Regions from separate parts of the Homo sapiens genome. Here regions 2, 3, 4, 5, 6 and 7 are each linked to region 1. The links are contacts of gene promoters, found by promoter capture Hi-C in human tissues and cell types (Jung and others, 2019). All regions are on one chromosome and are shown on one strand. The core of a region is centred on a gene start or on the middle of the fragment in contact, and the rest is flanking DNA. Distances in the headings are between cores, read along the strand shown. Region 1 holds the start of BIRC5 (baculoviral IAP repeat containing 5). Region 2 overlaps TNRC6C (trinucleotide repeat containing adaptor 6C). Region 3 overlaps PGS1 (phosphatidylglycerophosphate synthase 1). Region 4 overlaps TNRC6C (trinucleotide repeat containing adaptor 6C). Region 5 overlaps PGS1 (phosphatidylglycerophosphate synthase 1). Region 6 overlaps TNRC6C (trinucleotide repeat containing adaptor 6C). Region 7 overlaps TNRC6C (trinucleotide repeat containing adaptor 6C).

Region 1 (2,901 bases), core at 173-2,672:
TGCAATTATCTTTTATTTAAATTGACATCGGGCCGGGCGCAGTGGCTCACATCTGTAATCCCAGCACTTTGGGAGGCCGAGGCAGGCAGATCACTTGAGGTCAGGAGTTTGAGACCAGCCTGGCAAACATGGTGAAACCCCATCTCTACTAAAAATACAAAAATTAGCCTGGTGTGGTGGTGCATGCCTTTAATCTCAGCTACTCGGGAGGCTGAGGCAGGAGAATCGCTTGAACCCGTGGCGGGGAGGAGGTTGCAGTGAGCTGAGATCATGCCACTGCACTCCAGCCTGGGCGATAGAGCGAGACTCAGTTTCAAATAAATAAATAAACATCAAAATAAAAAGTTACTGTATTAAAGAATGGGGGCGGGGTGGGAGGGGTGGGGAGAGGTTGCAAAAATAAATAAATAAATAAATAAACCCCAAAATGAAAAAGACAGTGGAGGCACCAGGCCTGCGTGGGGCTGGAGGGCTAATAAGGCCAGGCCTCTTATCTCTGGCCATAGAACCAGAGAAGTGAGTGGATGTGATGCCCAGCTCCAGAAGTGACTCCAGAACACCCTGTTCCAAAGCAGAGGACACACTGATTTTTTTTTTAATAGGCTGCAGGACTTACTGTTGGTGGGACGCCCTGCTTTGCGAAGGGAAAGGAGGAGTTTGCCCTGAGCACAGGCCCCCACCCTCCACTGGGCTTTCCCCAGCTCCCTTGTCTTCTTATCACGGTAGTGGCCCAGTCCCTGGCCCCTGACTCCAGAAGGTGGCCCTCCTGGAAACCCAGGTCGTGCAGTCAACGATGTACTCGCCGGGACAGCGATGTCTGCTGCACTCCATCCCTCCCCTGTTCATTTGTCCTTCATGCCCGTCTGGAGTAGATGCTTTTTGCAGAGGTGGCACCCTGTAAAGCTCTCCTGTCTGACTTTTTTTTTTTTTTTAGACTGAGTTTTGCTCTTGTTGCCTAGGCTGGAGTGCAATGGCACAATCTCAGCTCACTGCACCCTCTGCCTCCCGGGTTCAAGCGATTCTCCTGCCTCAGCCTCCCGAGTAGTTGGGATTACAGGCATGCACCACCACGCCCAGCTAATTTTTGTATTTTTAGTAGAGACAAGGTTTCACCGTGATGGCCAGGCTGGTCTTGAACTCCAGGACTCAAGTGATGCTCCTGCCTAGGCCTCTCAAAGTGTTGGGATTACAGGCGTGAGCCACTGCACCCGGCCTGCACGCGTTCTTTGAAAGCAGTCGAGGGGGCGCTAGGTGTGGGCAGGGACGAGCTGGCGCGGCGTCGCTGGGTGCACCGCGACCACGGGCAGAGCCACGCGGCGGGAGGACTACAACTCCCGGCACACCCCGCGCCGCCCCGCCTCTACTCCCAGAAGGCCGCGGGGGGTGGACCGCCTAAGAGGGCGTGCGCTCCCGACATGCCCCGCGGCGCGCCATTAACCGCCAGATTTGAATCGCGGGACCCGTTGGCAGAGGTGGCGGCGGCGGCATGGGTGCCCCGACGTTGCCCCCTGCCTGGCAGCCCTTTCTCAAGGACCACCGCATCTCTACATTCAAGAACTGGCCCTTCTTGGAGGGCTGCGCCTGCACCCCGGAGCGGGTGAGACTGCCCGGCCTCCTGGGGTCCCCCACGCCCGCCTTGCCCTGTCCCTAGCGAGGCCACTGTGACTGGGCCTCGGGGGTACAAGCCGCCCTCCCCTCCCCGTCCTGTCCCCAGCGAGGCCACTGTGGCTGGGCCCCTTGGGTCCAGGCCGGCCTCCCCTCCCTGCTTTGTCCCCATCGAGGCCTTTGTGGCTGGGCCTCGGGGTTCCGGGCTGCCACGTCCACTCACGAGCTGTGCTGTCCCTTGCAGATGGCCGAGGCTGGCTTCATCCACTGCCCCACTGAGAACGAGCCAGACTTGGCCCAGTGTTTCTTCTGCTTCAAGGAGCTGGAAGGCTGGGAGCCAGATGACGACCCCATGTAAGTCTTCTCTGGCCAGCCTCGATGGGCTTTGTTTTGAACTGAGTTGTCAAAAGATTTGAGTTGCAAAGACACTTAGTATGGGAGGGTTGCTTTCCACCCTCATTGCTTCTTAAACAGCTGTTGTGAACGGATACCTCTCTATATGCTGGTGCCTTGGTGATGCTTACAACCTAATTAAATCTCATTTGACCAAAATGCCTTGGGGTGGACGTAAGATGCCTGATGCCTTTCATGTTCAACAGAATACATCAGCAGACCCTGTTGTTGTGAACTCCCAGGAACGTCCAAGTGCTTTTTTTGAGATTTTTTAAAAAACAGTTTAATTGAAATATAACCTACACAGCACAAAAATTACCCTTTGAAAGTGTGCACTTCACACTTTCGGAGGCTGAGGCGGGCGGATCACCTGAGGTCAGGAGTTCAAGACCTGCCTGGCCAACTTGGCGAAACCCCGTCTCTACTAAAAATACAAAAATTAGCCGGGCATGGTAGCGCACGCCCGTAATCCCAGCTACTCGGGAGGCTAAGGCAGGAGAATCGCTTGAACCTGGGAGGCGGAGGTTGCAGTGAGCCGAGATTGTGCCAATGCACTCCAGCCTCGGCGACAGAGCGAGACTCCGTCATAAAAATAAAAAATTGAAAAAAAAAAAAGAAAGAAAGCATATACTTCAGTGTTGTTCTGGATTTTTTTCTTCAAGATGCCTAGTTAATGACAATGAAATTCTGTACTCGGATGGTATCTGTCTTTCCACACTGTAATGCCATATTCTTTTCTCACCTTTTTTTCTGTCGGATTCAGTTGCTTCCACAGCTTTAATTTTTTTCCCCTGGAGAATCACCCCAGTTGTTTTTCTTTTTGGCCAGAAGAGAGTAGCTGTTTTTTTTCTTAGTATGTTTGCTATGGTGGTTATACTGCATCCCCGTAATCACTGGGAAAAG
Region 2 (2,901 bases), core at 261-2,760, 250 kb before region 1:
GCAAAGGTGATACTTAAGATTTTATAAGAAAGAAAATCGTTTGGCTGTGAACTCTAGGCTGTCCCGTATACCAAAGTAAAACACATGGGACAATTAAGATTTGGGGATAGAGCAAGCAAAGATTACCAAGAGCAACTGAAGCTGGTGGAGAAGGCACAAGAAATGGAGAGGAGGAGACAGGAACAGATTTATAGACGTCCTTGGAGCTGGCAGAAGGATAGGTTGAGGGAGCAGGAGGCGGAGTCCTGAACAGACTGAGCGTGAAAGGGTCTATATAAGCTGGGAAGAACCAGGTAACTTTATGTTTGTTTTGTTTTTGTTATCTTCCGTTGAACTTGTTTTGGCTTCTTTCTCATAATTTTAAGACATGGGTTTTTACCTTTTCTCCAGCTCTATCTCAGAGGGTCTTCAAATATTTTAGGTGAGAAGTAAGGAAATATTTTGAAGTGTTGGTGACACAGTCTTTGGTCTCTCTTGCATGACAACTGGTCCCAGTGAAGGTGACTGGATTTTAGTTACTTTAGATAGTTAACATCTTAATATTTTGTTTGAAGATGTCATAGATTTGAGTAGGGACAGCAAAATATCAGGTGAGAAGTGGCTCCTATTTTGTAGGGGGTAGATTGTACAGGTTTTCTTGCTTTTACTCAGTCTATGGCTATCCAAATTTATACAAATGAGTTTTTAAATAATTGTGTGGTCACGAGGAGAGCATTCTTTATAAAATGATATACAATAAGCTTTCTTTAAATAGACTTTAATGCAGTGGAGTCCATTTATAAATTTTCAGCTTATACATAACTTTTTAGGAATATAATTACTTAAAAATGTAAAGGTTACTTGTCAGAAATAACTATATAACCTTGTGCAGAAAGTGTATATCTGAAATTGAAACTGAGAAATGTATAATCTTAGCCAGTGAACTTGTTTGAATAACCCGATTAAAATAATGGTACAGTTTCCTATTGTACAGATCGTGCATTTGAAATGTTAATTTATTTAATGAAAAGTAAATTATGTAATTTTAAAAAATCTCCACCTGGGATATATATAACAAGGTTTTACATGTTTAAAACATGCTGAAAATCCATATCGTTTGTTCCATTTTTGGAGTTTTACTAAAAATGAATTCTTTTCTTAGCTTTAGATGTTTTCAGAGAATGAAGAAGCTATTGCAGGAATGGAGAGCTGTTTGTTAAGAATGCATTCCTCCTCTGTAGCCTTCAAAAGACTATAGAGCTGTGTGCAGAGCTAGACAATCTGGGCATCCAGCCATAAAACATCACTGCTGTAGCACAGATAGTTGTTCGCACTCTCCTGAGCCCTCTGTGGCTGCAAACCACAACAGAAGTAATGGTCTTGGGAAAGGAACACTCAATGTTATTTTGAACTCTTAATATTCTCTGTGTCTCTCTGAGTTCCAGCTATGCATTGGAACTTTGGTTTTCTAAAATATAGTAGTGATTAAGGATGAGCAATAATATAGCTTCTTAAGTATATTCCTCTTGTAAGCCAGTGGATTTAAATGTTTGCTCTAGGAAATAAGGGGTGTCTAGGAAATAAGAGTTGTCTGTCCCACCATCTTCCTCTTTATTTGCCTCTTTGTTGCAATACTTCTTTTCTGTTGGAGAACCACTGCCCTAAGACCCATATGATCACTGGGCCACACACAGTGCACATGGCCCAAAGAGTCATCTGGAATCTTCCAGATATTTTGTGGGATGGATTGGTCTAATTTGGCCCAGTTTCCACTTTCTCATGAACCTTTTTGGCATAACAAATTTTTAATTTTTTTGCACAAAAATGAAGAAGAGTGTGACTGGCATCTATTTGTATAAATCCAAATGGTTTACTCTGAAGACCCTCTCTGTTTTTCTTCTTCAGACCATTTTAGAAATTAATACTCTATTGTATCTTTATAACTTCCTTCTCTGAAGGATTGAACTACAAACCTATAGTATCACAGTGTCAAGTTGAATTATTCTCAGCAGTTGGATAACTCTTGTCTGTGGTTGAGTCCTTTACTAATGTGCAGACTGTCTTTTGACGTGGCTAATACCAGATGCAAGTTGGTGCCCAGGTGGTTATTGGGAATATGTGCTTTGTTTGATTCATTTTATGTGTGCCTTCTAGCTTATTAAGAATAAGATCTCTCACAGCTAAAATCAAGTGCTTGGTTTGAGCCTGGCAAAGATATTGTTTACTTTTTTATTCCCAAAGATCATTTCTTTTTAATTACTCTTTTAGGAAGCAGGGAAAATCTCAGTGAAAATAGCAACTGGGAATTAAACTAAGATCTGAAACTGGGAAATGGCAACGCGGGCACAGGTGTCACCTTTCCAACTGTTGTTGAGATGATGTGGACAACGGTTATTCAGAAATTACAGTGGGGAGGAGGGAGATGCACAAGTATTTTTTCTCATACTCCATATGAAATATGAAGTGCAGAGTGAGGGGCCCAGAGTGTAGGGAGGGAATTTAATAGGCTTTGTTCTTCAGGGGGCTATGGCTGATGTCTTAAACAAGGTCTTTTTTGGTAGGGAGGCACAGTAAGGGAAGAAGGTGATGGATTTGTGGGAACAAGTACATTTGAGTCACTGAGGACAATTGGGAATTGTGAAGTGGGAGTGGACGAGGTTAGAAAGCATCCTTAGGTAACCAGATCTCCATTTAAAACTAATCTGAGCATTTACAATGTGATTATGTGCCAAGGACATGAGTTTATCTTATTTAATCCTCACAACACTCCTGTGAAGTGGTTGCTTTTAACATTCCCATTTTACAGATGAGCAAAGGGAGTAATTTCCACAAGATCCTATAGCTTATAGGAGATGAAGCCAGAATTTAAACTCAATACACTTCAAAGCCCTCACATATGGAAAAAGCTTGGATTATTTTAAT
Region 3 (2,901 bases), core at 220-2,719, 210 kb after region 1:
CCTGAAGAAGCCCTGGGGCAAGGGCTCAGGGATGAGGGGGCAGAAAGGCAGATTGAGCCCCTCCAAGCTGAGCACACTGGTGCAGGAGATGTAGACGTGGGAGGAGGGGAGCACGTTTGCTCGTGAGAGTGGCTCTGGCTTGCTGCCCTGGCCGGCTGTAGTGCACAGGGTGGGGCGTCGGTAGAGCCAGACCGTGGGCTGCTGCCTGGACGCCTCGCTGACATCCCTGTGCTGCGGTTACAGAGCTGCGCCCTTCTAGACTCTGGAAGTTGAGTAACAGGACCTGCTCTGCCCACCCAGGAGGGGCCTGCCGCTTCACCAGAGGCACCAGTGGGGTCCCACAGTCACCTGAGGTACCCCTGGACTGTCTTGACGCCTAGAGGTCCGGGCAGGGGGTGGCTGCCATTAAAGGTGGGGTCTTTGCTGAGTGACCTTTTGTGTCCTGGATCCCTCAGGGCCTGGACTGCACTCCGGGTGGGGTCAGGCTCCCGAGGCCCCTGCTCTCTGGTTCTGGATGTTGTGGGTAGTTCTGTTGCTTTGGATGGCTGGGCCTTTGGATGGTGGCTTGTGGGGAAGGGACGGTGAGGAGTCAAAGATGAGCCAGGACCCATGTGGCCGGCACATGCGCTAGTGCCGGCATCTCATGTGTGCAGCGTGGGCTCCCTTAGTGCCTGGCACCTTAGTGCTCTGCTAAGTCTCATTGTTTAAAAATGTGTAGTTTATCTGCAGCTTTTCCTAGTTATTTTAATTACTTTTCATTTTATTTGAATAGTGTGTGCAAATGTAGAGAGTAAAACAATACTGCGGCCATTTCCTGCCCTCCCTTCCCCCAGGCAGCCACTCTTGGCTTGTTTCTTCTGATGTGCACACGTGTCCGTATTTCTAAATAACGTGCATATCCTGCTGTCTTCCCCCAAAATGTGTACTTAACCAAAACAGCACCAGTGTCACTCCTGAAACAAAAATTACCAAGAATGTCTTAGTATCATCAAATACCTAAATGGTGTTCACAATTCCACTTGCCTTAAAATTAATTTTTTCGATTATTTGACTTGAAGTCCAATTAAGGACTACACCTTGTGATTGTTTTTTCCCTAGCAATTTATTTTTTGAAGAATGAACTTTATTTTTATTGGATCTACTTAAAACATTTTTGTGTCACCTAGTAGCAGGGGATTTTGAATACATGTCATGTGTGTTTATAAAGCCAGCTCTCCATATCCCCCAGTGTCTCCAGGAGCTGCTTTTGTGACCTCACTGCCTGATCTCTTTATCATCTTCAGGTGCTTGACCCTTGCACAGAGAGAAGCTTCCTGGGCTACAGGGCATGGCAGCCTGTCCTTTCGGGGAGTGAGATTAGATTTAGTCCCTGCACTTTGCCTCTCTAGAAGCAGCTTCTCGCCTTTCCCTCCCGAGGGCTGGCAGGAGTCACTGTCACCCTTCATGGGGTCTGAAAGGTTGCATAGGCTCACCTGGTCTTAGACAAGGACAGTTGCAGCTTCCGCACCAGGCAGACCTGCAGTTTGAGTGGCTGGGGATAGGTGGAGCGGCGGCCTGGCCACAGTGCCCTGGACAGCAGCACATCACATCAGTTAACACTGTTTGCCTTCCAACTAGTTATTACGGTGTCCTGTGGGACAATTAGACTGGAGGAGCCAAAGGAATGTGCAGGGGCACTGGGTTTCTGTTTGGAGAGAGGCTCTCGGTAAACAGAGTTCGCATTCCTCCAGATTCTGTGGGACCAGAGTAAATATCATTATGCCACAGCCAGGCTTAAGCAATCTATCTGCAGTGCCGTTCCCGCAGCGCACACTGCTCCCTCTGTCTCTGCTGATGACCTTCGAGGCTGTCCTAGGCAGGTTCTCCCTGAGGAGCTCCCCACACCAAGCCTCCCTAACTCTGCAAAGCAGCCGGAGCAACAGAGAGCAGCGGGCGGCGGGCGGCGGCCGCCGCAGTCCTCCCGGCTTTCTAGGTGCGCGGGGCTGTCGTGTTCCAGTCCCTGTGTTCCCCGTCGCTGGAGTGCAGCTTAAGTGCGAATCATTTCTTGGAAAGTTTAGAGATAATTTTGTCAACTACCCACAATATGTATGTGTGGACTAGATTACTTTCTTATTTCAGGATCTAAAGGCAAAATGGAAAAACGTCACATTTTGTGGTTATTACCAGGGACTGAAGTGAGTTGCCCGGTGGCCCCTGGTGGCTTTAGCTCCCCTGGTCACCTGAAGGGCTGCAGTGACCCCTCCTGGCCAGCAGAGGTATTGGCCCAGCCAGGCTGGGGGAGGCTGAAACTGCTTCCCTTCTCTGCAGCCACAAAGGGCTGGATTCCTTGGGCGCCAGGAGGGGAGGATTTTTCTTTTCCCTCCGATAGCCCTACTGGGCGCTAAGATTGTTGTGAATCATTACCCTCAGAATTTGGACTTTCTAGATGCTTCTTAACCCATGATTTAGGTGAGTAAACTTGGAAAAATGTTTTTGCAAAACTTGATGATCAAGCTGAACGTAGAACGATATTCCTAATGGGTGTGTTTGCCTTTTTTCCCCCTTTTGAGACAGGGTCTCACTCTGTCACCCAGGCTGGAGTGAGTGGCATGATCATGCCTCGCTGCGTACTTGACCTCATGGGCTCAAGCGACCCTCCTGCCTCAGCCTCCTGAGTAGCTGGGACCACAGGCACATACAACATTCCCAGCTAATTTTTTGTATTTTTGATTGATAGAGATGGTTTTGCCACGTTGCCCAGGCTGGTCTTAAACTCCTGGGCTCAAGTAAGATTGCCGTCCTGGGATTAGAGGCGTGAGCTGCTGCAGCGGCCTGCTTTTCTTTGAAGCCTGAGAAATGTTGAGGGCCGGGCACAGTGGTTGACACCTGTAATCCTGGCGCTTTGGGAGGCCGAGGTTGGTG
Region 4 (2,901 bases), core at 175-2,674, 200 kb before region 1:
CCAGCCTTGTCTTACTAAATGTTGGAGTAGTTTAACTTTGGCTCCCTCTTCTGGCGGGTTGTAGGATTCTGCACTTTTGGAGAGAAAATACCTAAGATTACTGCTATTTCCCAATTTATCAGTCCTGGGAGAACACATTTGAGACATAATTCCACTTAAATCTTCTGTGTTTCATGAGATTTAGGATTTGCCATTTGTTCTGAGAGCTCATTTAGTTCAGGATGATTTAGCATGAAAAGAGATGTGGTCAAGAAGGAGTTAAGGGAACTGACAAGCTCTACACCCAGTGGACTTTCTTTGCCTTTAATGTTTTGTCCAGTGTGTTGCCTCACTTGGAGAGAGTTATGATCAATGTTACATATGAGAAGATTACAGGAGAGCCAGTAGGCATTAATGCTGTCTTGATTACTCAGCTTTAACATATGCTCTTAGCGGCATTTTCTAAATTGATCTTCTAAATAAGCCTGTTGTTTAAAAAGAACTTAGATGTGCTTGCATATATGATACATAGTACATTTTCTTACAGCAGGAATATCCAAGGGCCAAAACAAAGTAACCTTTTAATGAAATGATTCTTACTGTTTGTAGTCATTATTAAAATAATTTTGCTTTCTTTTAACATTCATGTTATCTAGTATGTGATGTATTGAGAGTGGCATTTGGTACCTTTTAGAGAGGTAACTGTAATATGCTAGAGTAGAAAATACCTCTGAACGGCATTTCTCATTAGCAACAGACACTAAGTTAATGTAGTTTGTAGTTAATGAGTCTGTGCTTGTTTTGAGTTGGGCTCCAAATGTTGCCACGGTGATAGATCAGCCAGAAGCATCCACTGAACAAACAGAAGGCACCACTTTGTATCCCTCCAGGACTGCTGATGAGCACAGCAGATGGACCCTCCGTACTCAGAGCTGTCTTCTGCTCGCATCTCATTGTTCTAAGGCAACTTCTCGCCACAATGTTTGCTGCTGTATAGGCTGCAGAAGAAATTGTAATAACAAAAATATTCCTTGGAATCACTGATTATGTTGGCACAAGAGAATAGTTCTCTTACATAGTCACATTTGCAAACAATCTTATATTTGAGTAAATTTAAAATGTTAAGAAACTCTGAATCTTTGAATATTTATTCTGAAATGACTAGAATTACTGCTTGATTTTTGACAATTTTTTTCATTGTGTGGGGTGTCCATGCATAAGAGAAGTTCTATGCTTTATCTTACAAAAGCTTGTTTCTTAAGTTCTGAGATGACATCAGTCATAGGACATATCATCTATTCAATAACGTCCTGTTGACAGAGGTGGAGCATGAATGAGGAAACCTTGTTGTATTTATACATCAATTGTAAGGGGCATCCAAATTTCAGAAAGAAGATGTGTTAAAATGTGTGGGTTAAAAATGTCCCTCCCAGTTAGCATTTTTACCTATAAAAAGTTAGTTTTAAAATATACTGCTCTCATCCATTTCACACCTACTTGTTATTATACTTTAGGCTAATGGTGGCAGCCCACGGGATTCTAATTGAGGATCCTTTTAACAGTAAATGCCATTACTGGGAAACAGTGGTATACCTAGCTCATACCACATACTGTGATGTTGTCTAGGTAGATGGAAGATTTAAATGTACTACTTGGGCCAGGCACAGTGGCTCAGCCTGTAATCCCAGCCACTTTGGGAGGCCGAGGTGGGCGGATCACCTGAGGTCAGGAGTTCCAGACCAGCCTGGCCAAGATGGCAGAACCGCATCTCTACTAAAAGTACAAAAATTAGCTGGGCGTGGTGGTGGGCGCCTGTGATCCCAGCTACTCGGGAGGCCAAGGCAGGAGAATTGCTGGAACCCAGGAAGCGGAGGTTGCAGTAAGCCGAGATCATGCCATTGCACTCCAGCCTGGGCAACAGAGCAAGACTCCATCTCAATAATAAATAAATAAAACTCCTTGCTAAAAAAGTCTATATGCTCTTAACCAGATTTCGGCTGAAGAATATAGAAACTACTCTAGCTGTTATAAGCAGAAATGGGTTTAAAATATGGAGGACTGGGTGCGTATAAAATCACTGAAAGGGCTGAAGGGGGTAAACTCTAGGCTGGGCCTTCAGAAATGACTCCCCAAAGAGTTCCCTGAAGAGCTGCTACCTCCAGGAATAATTGAGAGGCCCTATTGGCTCTCTTGACTTCTAGAGCACAGTGCCACTGCCGCAGACCAGGGGTCAGGAAGCGGCACTAACACTGTCTCTCTCAGCCACAAAAGGAGCGATTGGGAATGTGGCCCCTGCACAGAAACTGCCACCATCTCCAGTACTGTGCTTACAGGCACCCACAGCCAGTACCTGCCAGGTCACATGCACTCACATGTAACTGGGGGAACCAGATCCCTAGCCTCAGCTCTCCTTGCACGGAGGCTGCATAAGCTGTGTGCCAGGCTTGTCAGTCCTGCACCAGGTGTGCCTGTGGTGGTGGGTGGGAGAGACCATTTTAACTACTTGCTTTGTAAACATTTAAAATAATGGGATGGCTGTTCATTAACATTCATCTAGCGCCTAACACTTTCCAAACTGTTGGAGATATGGGAACCAAATTAAGGGGGGTGGTTTAGAACCAGAGTAAGATCTAATCCTCCATTCCTGAGTACAGCTGTCATTACCTCTTCTAAATTGCTGCAGTCTCTGCCTGCCTTCCCTTCTTTAGGTCATTCTCTGTGGTTCCTCCTTTAACATGATTATTTAACTTCTGTGGCTTCCATTGCTTCTGAGAGGAGGAGGATTATTATACTATAAACGCTTACTGTGTACTAAGTGCCAGTCACTGTTCTAAACCATTCTTTACGTAGATTAGCAATCAATCCTCAAGGAACTCTCTCAGTAAGGGATTCTTAGCTCCCTTTTATCCCCCCGCCCTTGCC
Region 5 (2,901 bases), core at 281-2,780, 190 kb after region 1:
TTCCACCCTCAGTGACCCTCTGTAGTATTTTCCTCACTGTGTACATGTGGAAACAGATCAGAGAGGATGAGTCACTTTGTCAGGTAGACAGAGCCAGAAAAATAAACAAGAGTCAGACCTGGAAGTCCAGGTCCTTAGGCTGATAAATATGGGCCCTTTCACAGGCCCTCCCCTCGGCAGTGGGGCCAGGATTGGGTTGCTGGTGCTGAGAGAAAGCCCTTGATTGCATCCTTGCTCTGGGACTGTACCAGTGGCAGCTGTCACTTAGTGGGACAGAGAGAACAAACAAACATGGGCGCTGATAAATAGCCCTGCATGGGCCGGGCGCAGTGGCTCACGCCTGTAATCCCACATTTTGGGAGGCTGAGGCAGAGGGATCACCTGACGTTAGAAGTTCAAGACCAGCCTGGACAACATGGTGAAGCCCCGTCTCTACTAAAAATACAAAAATTAGCTGGGTGTGGTGGCACACACCTGTAATCCCAGCTACTCGGGAGGCTGAGGCAGGAGGATCACTTGAACCTGGGAGGCGGAGGCTGCAGGGAGCCAAGATCATGCCACTGCACTCCAGCCTGGGCGACAGAATGAGATTGTCTCAAAAAAAAAAAAAGCCCTGTGTGGTTAGTTGACTTTCTGTGTCTGCATCTCCTCTTCTCAGCTACACTGTCGGCTCCTTGAGAGGAGGAGGCTGTGGGTCACTTTGCTGTGTCACCTTGGATCAACTCTGGCTTTGTCTTTTGCACGTGTTCATTGCTGAGTAGCTATTTGTTAACTGCATCTTGACCTGAGTTTGTCACCCCCCTGCTAGTTCACCTGAGACCTGGGTCACCAGGACACGCTGCTGCATACCCTTGCCTGAGTCCTCCTCACCTGCATCTTCCCTCCCTGTAGTGCAAACCTGAGTGACTCCTACTTCACCAACCGCCAGGACCGCTACGTGTTCCTGCAGGACTGTGCGGAGATTGCCGACTTCTTCACGGAGCTGGTGGACGCGGTGGGGGATGTGTCCCTGCAGCTGCAGGGGGACGACACGGTGCAGGTGGTGGATGGGATGGTGCATCCTTACAAAGGTAGGGGCTGCCGCTGACACCCTTCTATGGCTGTGGGTGGGGTGGAGTGAGGGCCCGGGAGAGCACAACTCTAGGTGGTTCTGCCACAGGCATAGGGGACTTGGGTGGCAAGGCTTCATTCTGCTTTTGTCCTTGAAGCCAGACAGATGTGACTCACTGACCATCAGTCATGCTCTGTGGGTGAGAGAGCCAGCCCAGAAAGGTGGGAGCTTGGGCTTGGGACTCCTACTCCTTGAGGCGGAGTCACTCAGGTTTGCACTACAGGGAGGGAAGACGCAGGTGAGGAGGACTCAGGCAAGGGTATGCAGCAGCGTGTCCTAGTGACCCAGGTCTCAGGTGAACTAGCAGGGGGGTGACAAACTCAGGTCAGGACGCAGTTAACAAATAGCTACTCAGCAATGAACACGTGTGCCTGGGCGAGTGACCCAGAAGCCTGCCCTGCATCACAGGAAGCAACCAGGCCAGCAGCTGTTCGCCTAGGGCCCATTTCCCCAAGCCTATCACCTGGGCCTGTGGCTCCCAGCTCCCTTGAGCTCTGTGGCCCCCTGCCTGGAAAATGAAGTGGAAGAGCTCTCAGCTCTGCCCACTGGAACCAGGCAGGTTCTGGCGTGAGTGTTCTGGGGCATTTGCATTCCTGTGATTCCTGCGGCTGTGGCTCCCCCATGGCCTTTAGAGAGCTGCTGCTGGATTTGCAGCAGTGTCTGAACTTGGGGAGGAGGAGCTGAAGTTGGAACTTGTTGGGAGAAGAGCTCTCTGCGTCTTGTGGACCTAGAATGGAAGCATTTCAGTGGGCCGTCTGGTGGAAGCCCTGTCCTTGTGTCAGGGGAGCCCTGGGCCTCAGACCCCGACCGTGATGGTGTGATGCTCTGCCTGCCGCCATGCACTGTTCCTACTGTTGTATTTTGAATTTCATCTGTAAAGAGCTTGTGGAGCTCTGTATCTCTCTTGCTGAGTGCCTACCTAGCATCCTCAGCTTTGCCTTTTGGCCCAGAAAGCCTAAAATATTTACCATCTGACCCTTAAAGAAAATGTGTGTGGATCCCTGGTCTAATGTAACGGGCCAGGCATGGATATGAGAGAAAACAGGCCATGCTTAGGCCAGGATGAGAGCCAGCACGCTCCGAGCAGGAGCGGGGAGACTCGAGCCCAGCTGTGCTTGGGAGAATGAGTCCACAGAGAGGCTCAGGGTGTGCGCAGGGCCCCCCGGTGCTCCTCCCTCCGGCAGCCCTGTCCAGCATGTGGCAGTGTGACTCCTTTCTCCCCTGGAGGGTGTTGGCATCAACAGGCTAGACTCCTGCATGGGATGGTCCTTCTCTTTGTTCTGTAGCCCAGCCCTGAAAGGCACTGAGTGTCTGTTCCTGCCCCCAGCTCAGACCATGCAAGCCAGCAAGGATGACCTGGGACAGCCCTCCTTCCCTGTTTCACTTCCCTGATCAGCCTTGCCAAAGCCTTGTTGTTTTATCAATCGTTTATCAGACAATCAACTTTGGACAGTTGATATTCTCCATTTTTGTATCATTTTCATTCTAGTAATTTCTATTCATATATATATATATATATATATATATATATACACACACACACACACATATGTATGTATATATTTTTGAGATGGAGTTTTTGCTCTCGTCACCCAGGCTGGAGTGTGGTGGCACGATCTCAGCTCACTGCAACCTCTGCCTCCGAGGTTCAAGTGATTCTCCAGCCTCAGCTGCCCGAGTAGCTGGGGTTACAGGCACACAACACCACACCTGGCTAATGTTTGTACTCTTGGTAGAGACAGGGTTTCACCATGTTGGTCAGGCTGGTCTCAAACTCCTGGCCTCAGGTG
Region 6 (2,901 bases), core at 201-2,700, 180 kb before region 1:
ACAACTTTACCAAGTCTCTTCAAATAGTCTTGGCTTTCGTCTGCTAACCACTTGGTAGAGGGGATGTAGGTCAATGATTGTCACCAAAAAGCAAGGCAGAAAAGATAAAATATATTCACTGACCAAGAATATAGTCTCATCTATTTAGTTGCCAGCAGTTTACAATCAAACATGCTACTTTCCCAATATGGTCCTTGGGAAAATCTTAACAGAGACAAGGATTCTATAGTTAGACCTAAATAGCTTGGTGTTTTAATTTAAGGGTCTTATTTTGAAAAACTGAATAAGAAATGTAACAGCCCTGCCTGTTCTGGTTGTATCTGGTTGTGATGTGATTGGTTGACAGTATTGCATCAGTTTTCTCATCAAATGCTGCTGGTGCAGAATGTTACTGGTATCTTCTTAGATAAGTAGAAAATAAGCAATTAAGTCAATAAAATCTTGCTATGATATAATATTCCCTCATTAAATATTTATCTCTGTAAATATAACATTATCTAAGAAAATACTCCTAGTTCATAGTCCTTCTAAAATATATATTGTAGGCTGGGCACAGTGGCTCACGCCTGTAATCCCAGCACTTTGGGAAGCCAAGGTGGGCGGATCACCTGAGGTCGAGAGTTCGAGACCAGCCTGACCAACATGGAGAAACCCAGTCTGTACTAAAAATACAAAATTAGCTGGGCATGTTGGCACATGCCTGTAATCCCAGCTACTCGGGAGGCTGAGGCAGGAGAATCGCTTGAACCTGGGACGTGGAGGTTGCGGCGAGCCGAGATCACGCCATTGCACTCCAGCCTGGGTGACAAGAGTGAAACTCCGTTTCAAAAAAAAAAAGGTGTGTGAGTATATATATAAATATACATATAAACACACACACATATTGAAGAACATAAATCATTTTATGGATTGAAAACATCTCAAAAAATTGATCAATCTATGTAGTGAGCATAAAATAAGAAATTCATTCTTGACTCCCAAACAAAAATCTTCATTTTATACCAATTTCATCTCTTCCTCAGTAGTCTCTGGTATCACAGCCAGATGCATCTTTCTAACTCACCACCCTTCACTGACGAGGGGTCCCCTCACAAACCTGCCGTGGTCACCTAGTTACTAATGCACAAACTCTCCGTTTTTCTCTCTGGCTGTGAAGGCCCTTCATAGCCGAGTCTCCCCAACATTTTCCCCGCCTACTCTCCATGGCCTACTTTTTTCTTTTCTTTTGAGACTGAGTTTCTCTCTTGTTGCCCAGGCTGAAATGCGATGGCACAGTTTTGGCTCACCACAACCTCTGCCTCCCAGGTTCAAGTGATTCTCCTGCCTGCCTCAGCCTCCTGAGTAGCTGGGATTACAGGCGACCACCACCATGCCTGACTAATTTTGTATTTTTAGTAGAGAAGGCATTTCACCATGTTGGTCAGGATGGTCTCAAACTCCTGACCTCAGGTGATCCGCCTGCCTCAGCCTCCCAAAGTGCTGTGATTCCAGGCGTGAGCCACCACCCCCCAGCCTCCATGGCCTACTTTCTATTATGATTGGGATTGCTTTCTTACTGTCTCACAAGTGTGCCATGCTCACTGTCAAGTCCCTCCCATGCACACATGCTTAATTGCTGCCCCCCCAACCCCCACTTTACTTCCAGTTCATTGTCCCCCCGCACCCGTGAGGCTTCCCCAAGCAGCTCTGTCTCCATTCTGTTCTCACAGGTGTAATATGCCCACTTTGTAACATAACACCTTTGCACTTACTGTATACTGTATATCCTATATTTTTTGCTGATTAGGTCATAAGAGTCTTGCCTTTAAACTAAGTTGGAAATATCCTATGAAGAAAATGTTTGAGGTCGGGCGTGGTGGCTGATGCCTGTAATCCCAGCACTTTGAAGCCCTGGGCGGGTGAATTGCTTGAGCTCAGGAGTTCGAGGCCAGCCTGGGTGACACAGCAAAACCCCCTTTCTGCAAAAAGTACAAAAATTAGCCAGACATGGTGGCATGTGCCTGTGGTCCCAGCTACTCAAGAGGCTGAGGTGGGACAATCGCTTGAGTCTGGGAGGTGGAGGATGCAGTGAGCCAAGATCGAGTCACTGCATTCCAGCCTGGGCAACAGGAAAAAATAAATAACGTCTCTGAGCTTTCTATGACTAAGCAGAATGGGAAAATCTCTGAACCATAGGTGAGGACTTGGAAACTAGAACTTGTTATGCCACCAACTAGTCCTTCCATTTCTCATCTAAAATGAGAGGTTTGAACCTCTCATGATCTCTAAGGTCCTTTCCCTTAAATTTCTGACTCAGACACCATTCCAATGACTTTGTTTGATTTTGTCAGTGGAAGGACTTTCAGGAACACTGTCCCATGTTGTTACGGTGTTGGCACAGGGATTGTAGGTGAGCATCAGCAAGCATGGAGGCAGTATGGCAAAGTGGTCAAGAGACAGGCCCAATCCACTTTCCAGACCCACCACCTCCTGTGTGACCTTGACCAAATCACCTTCACTCCCTGTACTTTTGACTCATCTTTGAAATGAAGAGATTCCTAATTTTGAAGATGAGCTATTTATTTCATATGCAGCACAAGGTCTTGCTTATAGTAGGTGTTGAGTAATGCAGGTGATAGTTGTTAGTGTGAGACTGGTGAGACTTTGAAATATACAACAAATATGTACCCATCTTTGAAACACCATTGTGAAGCAGAGTGTTCACAAATCCCAGCTACCTGACAGGCTGAGGGAGAAGGATCGCTTGAGCCCAGGAATTCAAGACCAGCATGGACAACACAGCAAGACCTGTTTCAAAAAAATAGTCAAAATTTTTGACTGACTAAATTCTAAAACAGTGCAGTAAAGCTTTCTCATCACTCTGTGATTTGTGTATATTTTGAAGTTTCACTTGTCCTTCCT
Region 7 (2,901 bases), core at 138-2,637, 160 kb before region 1:
GTTTTAGCCTCCAGCTAACGCATCAGTGTCACTAAACCAGAGGTCAAAAATCAGTGGTCCGTGGGCTGCACCTAGTCCCACAAATGTGCCTTTTTGGCCCACATTTTTTCTGTGAATTGGCATTTTTTTAATGCAAATGTTTTATATTAAATTCCAGATTTCTGGCTTCCTTTGGAAACCTGAAAAGTCTGACATTGGATTCACATGGCAGCAGTCAGTCAGAGCCACTTGCCTTCATAAGGGCCTGTGCATTTTCTCCATACCATGTCACGTTGCCCCCCGACCCCTGACGGTTCCCAACACTGAGGCTTTTGATCAGTAGCCACTGAGCATCATCAAGCTTGCGCTGCTGTTCTTACGCTGGGCCTGTTTACGTTAACTGACTGGTTCCTTGGAGTACTTGAATTTGTGATTCCAATTGTTTACTAATATATGACTAATATTTCTAGGCCCTTACATTTTATAAAGTACTTGGGGGGATAAGGAGAAGCAGGAAGAAGGAAAATGAAGGGATTTGAAAAATAAGATTAGGTCGGGCGTGGTGGCTCATGCCTGTAATCCCAGTACTTTGGGAGGCCAAGGCGGGCAGATCATCTGAGGTCAGGAGTTCGAGACCAGCCTGACCAACAAGGTGAAACCCCATCTCTACTAAAAATACAAAATTAGCCGGGCATGGTGGCGCATGTCTCTAATCCCAGCTACTCAGGAGGTGAAGGCAGGAGAATCATTTGAACCCAGGAGGCGGAGGTTGCAGTGAGCTGAGATGGGGCCATTGCACTCCAGCCTGGGCGACAGAGCGAAACTCTGTCTCAAAAAAAAAAAAAGAAAGAAAGAAAAATAAGATTATTCCTAAGTAAGGAATAGTCTAGTGGGACAGGCTAGTAATATCAAATTTAATAGAGTTTAATTAGCATTATAGTAAAGGTATGCAGAAAGTGATCTGAGAGCCCCCACCTGTAATCCCAGCTACTTGGGAGGCTGAGGTGGAAGGATGGCTTGAGCCCAGGAGTTCAAAGCCTGCCTGGGCAACATAACGAGACCCCATTTCTTTAAACAAACAAACAAAAAAGCTCCAGGAACAGAATTAATACAGTCATGCATAGCTTAACAATGGTGATACATTCTAAGAAATGTGTCATCAGACAATTTCAGCATTGTGTTAACATTATAAAGTATAGTTACATAAACCTAGATGGCATAGCCTCCTGCTCACCTAGGCTATACGGTACAGCCTGTTGCTCCTAGGCTACAAACCTGCACAGCATATTACTGTACTGAATACTGTAGGCAGTTGTAGGACGATGGTAAGTATTTATATATCTAAACATGAAAAGGGGACATTAAAATATGGTATAAAATATTTAAAATGGTGCACCTGTATAGGGCACTTACCATGAGTGGAGCTTGCAGGACTGGAAGTGGCTGTGGGTGAGTCAGTGAGTTAGTGGTGAGTGAATGTGAAGGCTTGGGACACTACTGCACACTACTGCAGACTACGCACACCACTGCAGACTACTGCACACTACTGCAGACTACGCACACCACTGCAGACTACTGTACACTACTGGAGACTACTGCAGAGTACTGTGCACTACTATACACCACTGCAGACTACTGTAAACCACTGCAGACTACTGTATACTACTGCAGACTACTGCACGCCACTGCAGACTACTGTACACCACTGCAAAGTAGAGTTCACCACTGTATACCACTGCAGAGCACTGTACATCACTGTGGACTACTGCGCACCACTGCAGACTACTGTAGACTACTATACACCACTGCAGACTACTGTAGACTAGTATACACCACTGCAGACTACTGCACACCACTGCAGACTACTGTACGCTACTGGAGACTACTGCAGACTACTGTAGACTACTATACACCACTGCAGACTACTACAGACTACTGTACACTACTGGAGACTACTGTGGACTACTGTACACTACTATACATTACTGCAGACTACTGTACACTACTATACACCACTGCAGACTACTGTACGCTACCATACACCACTGCAGACTACTGTACACTACCATACACCACTGCAGACTACTGTACGCTACCATACACCACTGCGGACTACTGTATGCTACCATACACCACTGCGGACTACTGTACGCTACCATACACCACTGCGGACTACTGTACGCTACCATACACCACTGCGGACTACTGTACACCACTGCAAAGTAGAGTTCAGCACTGTACACCACTGCAGAGTACTGCGCACCACTGTAGACTGCTGTAGACTTGGTGAACACTGTACGCTTAGGCCACACTACATTTATTAAAAGATTAAAAGATACTTTCTTCAGTAACACTTAGCTTAAAACACACATTGTACAGCTTCACAAAAGTATTTTTTATATTCTTATTCTATGAGCTTTTTTTTTGTACCTTTTAAACTTTTTTGATAACTAAGACACAAACGCACACGTTAGCCTAGGCCTACACAGGGCCGGGATCTTCAGTATCACTGTTGTCCACCTCCACACGTTGTCCCATTGGAGATCCAATAACAGGAAGTACAGTAAAGACATAAACTGGTAACATAGTCTTGTATCAGCATCATCAGTTGTGTGTGCTAGACCTTGCTGTGACTGGCCGCACAGTAGGTTTGTTTACACGAGCATCACCACAAACACGTGGGGAATGCATTCCGCTACATTATGATGGGTATGGCGTCACTAGGTGATGGGAATTTTTCAGCTCCATTATATATAATCTTAGGGGACCATTGTCCTGTACGCAGTCAGTTGACCAAACCGTCATTATGCAGCCCATGACTATTTTAAATTGGCTTGTGTGTCCCATCCACCCTTAGTGGATAGTCCCAATTTGAATGCCAACTCCTGGAAGAGTTCAGGCTACAGAGGGCCCTATGCCTGG

The links. The method cuts DNA at HindIII sites, captures the fragments that hold promoters and counts their contacts. A contact is called where the count stands out against the background at its distance.
Region 2: a contact is called between a fragment that was not itself captured here and the fragment with the promoter of BIRC5 in region 1, in 1 of the 25 tissues and cell types used here (dorsolateral prefrontal cortex).
Region 3: a contact is called between a fragment that was not itself captured here and the fragment with the promoter of BIRC5 in region 1, in 2 of the 25 tissues and cell types used here (dorsolateral prefrontal cortex and lymphoblastoid cells).
Region 4: a fragment that was not itself captured here is called in contact with the fragment with the promoter of BIRC5 in region 1 in 2 of the 25 tissues and cell types used here (lymphoblastoid cells and mesenchymal stem cells).
Region 5: a fragment that was not itself captured here is called in contact with the fragment with the promoter of BIRC5 in region 1 in 2 of the 25 tissues and cell types used here (dorsolateral prefrontal cortex and spleen).
Region 6: a contact is called between a fragment that was not itself captured here and the fragment with the promoter of BIRC5 in region 1, in 1 of the 25 tissues and cell types used here (lymphoblastoid cells).
Region 7: a contact is called between a fragment that was not itself captured here and the fragment with the promoter of BIRC5 in region 1, in 1 of the 25 tissues and cell types used here (lymphoblastoid cells).

What each region holds. Positions count from the first base shown.
Region 1 is chr17:78,212,831-78,215,731 of GRCh38, forward strand. It overlaps BIRC5 (baculoviral IAP repeat containing 5), which reads left to right and starts at 1,423. Exons shown (of 4, transcript NM_001168.3): 1 at 1,423-1,597; 2 at 1,850-1,959. The coding sequence starts at 1,487. RefSeq lists an enhancer at 1,168-2,069. The HindIII fragment of the contact is 20,243 bases long and covers 1-2,901 here.
Region 2 is chr17:77,962,366-77,965,266 of GRCh38, forward strand. The region is part of intron 1 of TNRC6C (trinucleotide repeat containing adaptor 6C); the gene reads left to right. Among named protein-coding and RNA genes, the nearest start is that of TNRC6C, 5.1 kb to the left of the region's middle. The HindIII fragment of the contact is 3,556 bases long and covers 1-2,901 here.
Region 3 is chr17:78,419,971-78,422,871 of GRCh38, forward strand. The region is part of intron 9 of PGS1 (phosphatidylglycerophosphate synthase 1); the gene reads left to right. Among named protein-coding and RNA genes, the nearest start is that of PGS1, 43 kb to the left of the region's middle. RefSeq lists enhancers at 1-306, 2,580-2,901. The HindIII fragment of the contact is 3,716 bases long and covers 1-2,901 here.
Region 4 is chr17:78,013,996-78,016,896 of GRCh38, forward strand. The region is part of intron 3 of TNRC6C (trinucleotide repeat containing adaptor 6C); the gene reads left to right. Among named protein-coding and RNA genes, the nearest start is that of TNRC6C, 57 kb to the left of the region's middle. The HindIII fragment of the contact is 3,984 bases long and covers 1-2,901 here.
Region 5 is chr17:78,399,786-78,402,686 of GRCh38, forward strand. PGS1 (phosphatidylglycerophosphate synthase 1) reads left to right here. Exons shown (of 10, transcript NM_024419.5): 6 at 892-1,070. It overlaps LOC124900399 (small nucleolar RNA SNORA30/SNORA37 family), which reads left to right and starts at 150; the gene lies at 150-278. RefSeq lists an enhancer at 743-1,248. The HindIII fragment of the contact is 6,850 bases long and covers 1-2,901 here.
Region 6 is chr17:78,032,844-78,035,744 of GRCh38, forward strand. All of the region lies in intron 4 of TNRC6C (trinucleotide repeat containing adaptor 6C), which reads left to right. Among named protein-coding and RNA genes, the nearest start is that of TNRC6C, 76 kb to the left of the region's middle. The HindIII fragment of the contact is 3,255 bases long and covers 1-2,901 here.
Region 7 is chr17:78,052,818-78,055,718 of GRCh38, forward strand. All of the region lies in intron 5 of TNRC6C (trinucleotide repeat containing adaptor 6C), which reads left to right. Among named protein-coding and RNA genes, the nearest start is that of TMC6, 74 kb to the right of the region's middle. The HindIII fragment of the contact is 3,753 bases long and covers 1-2,901 here.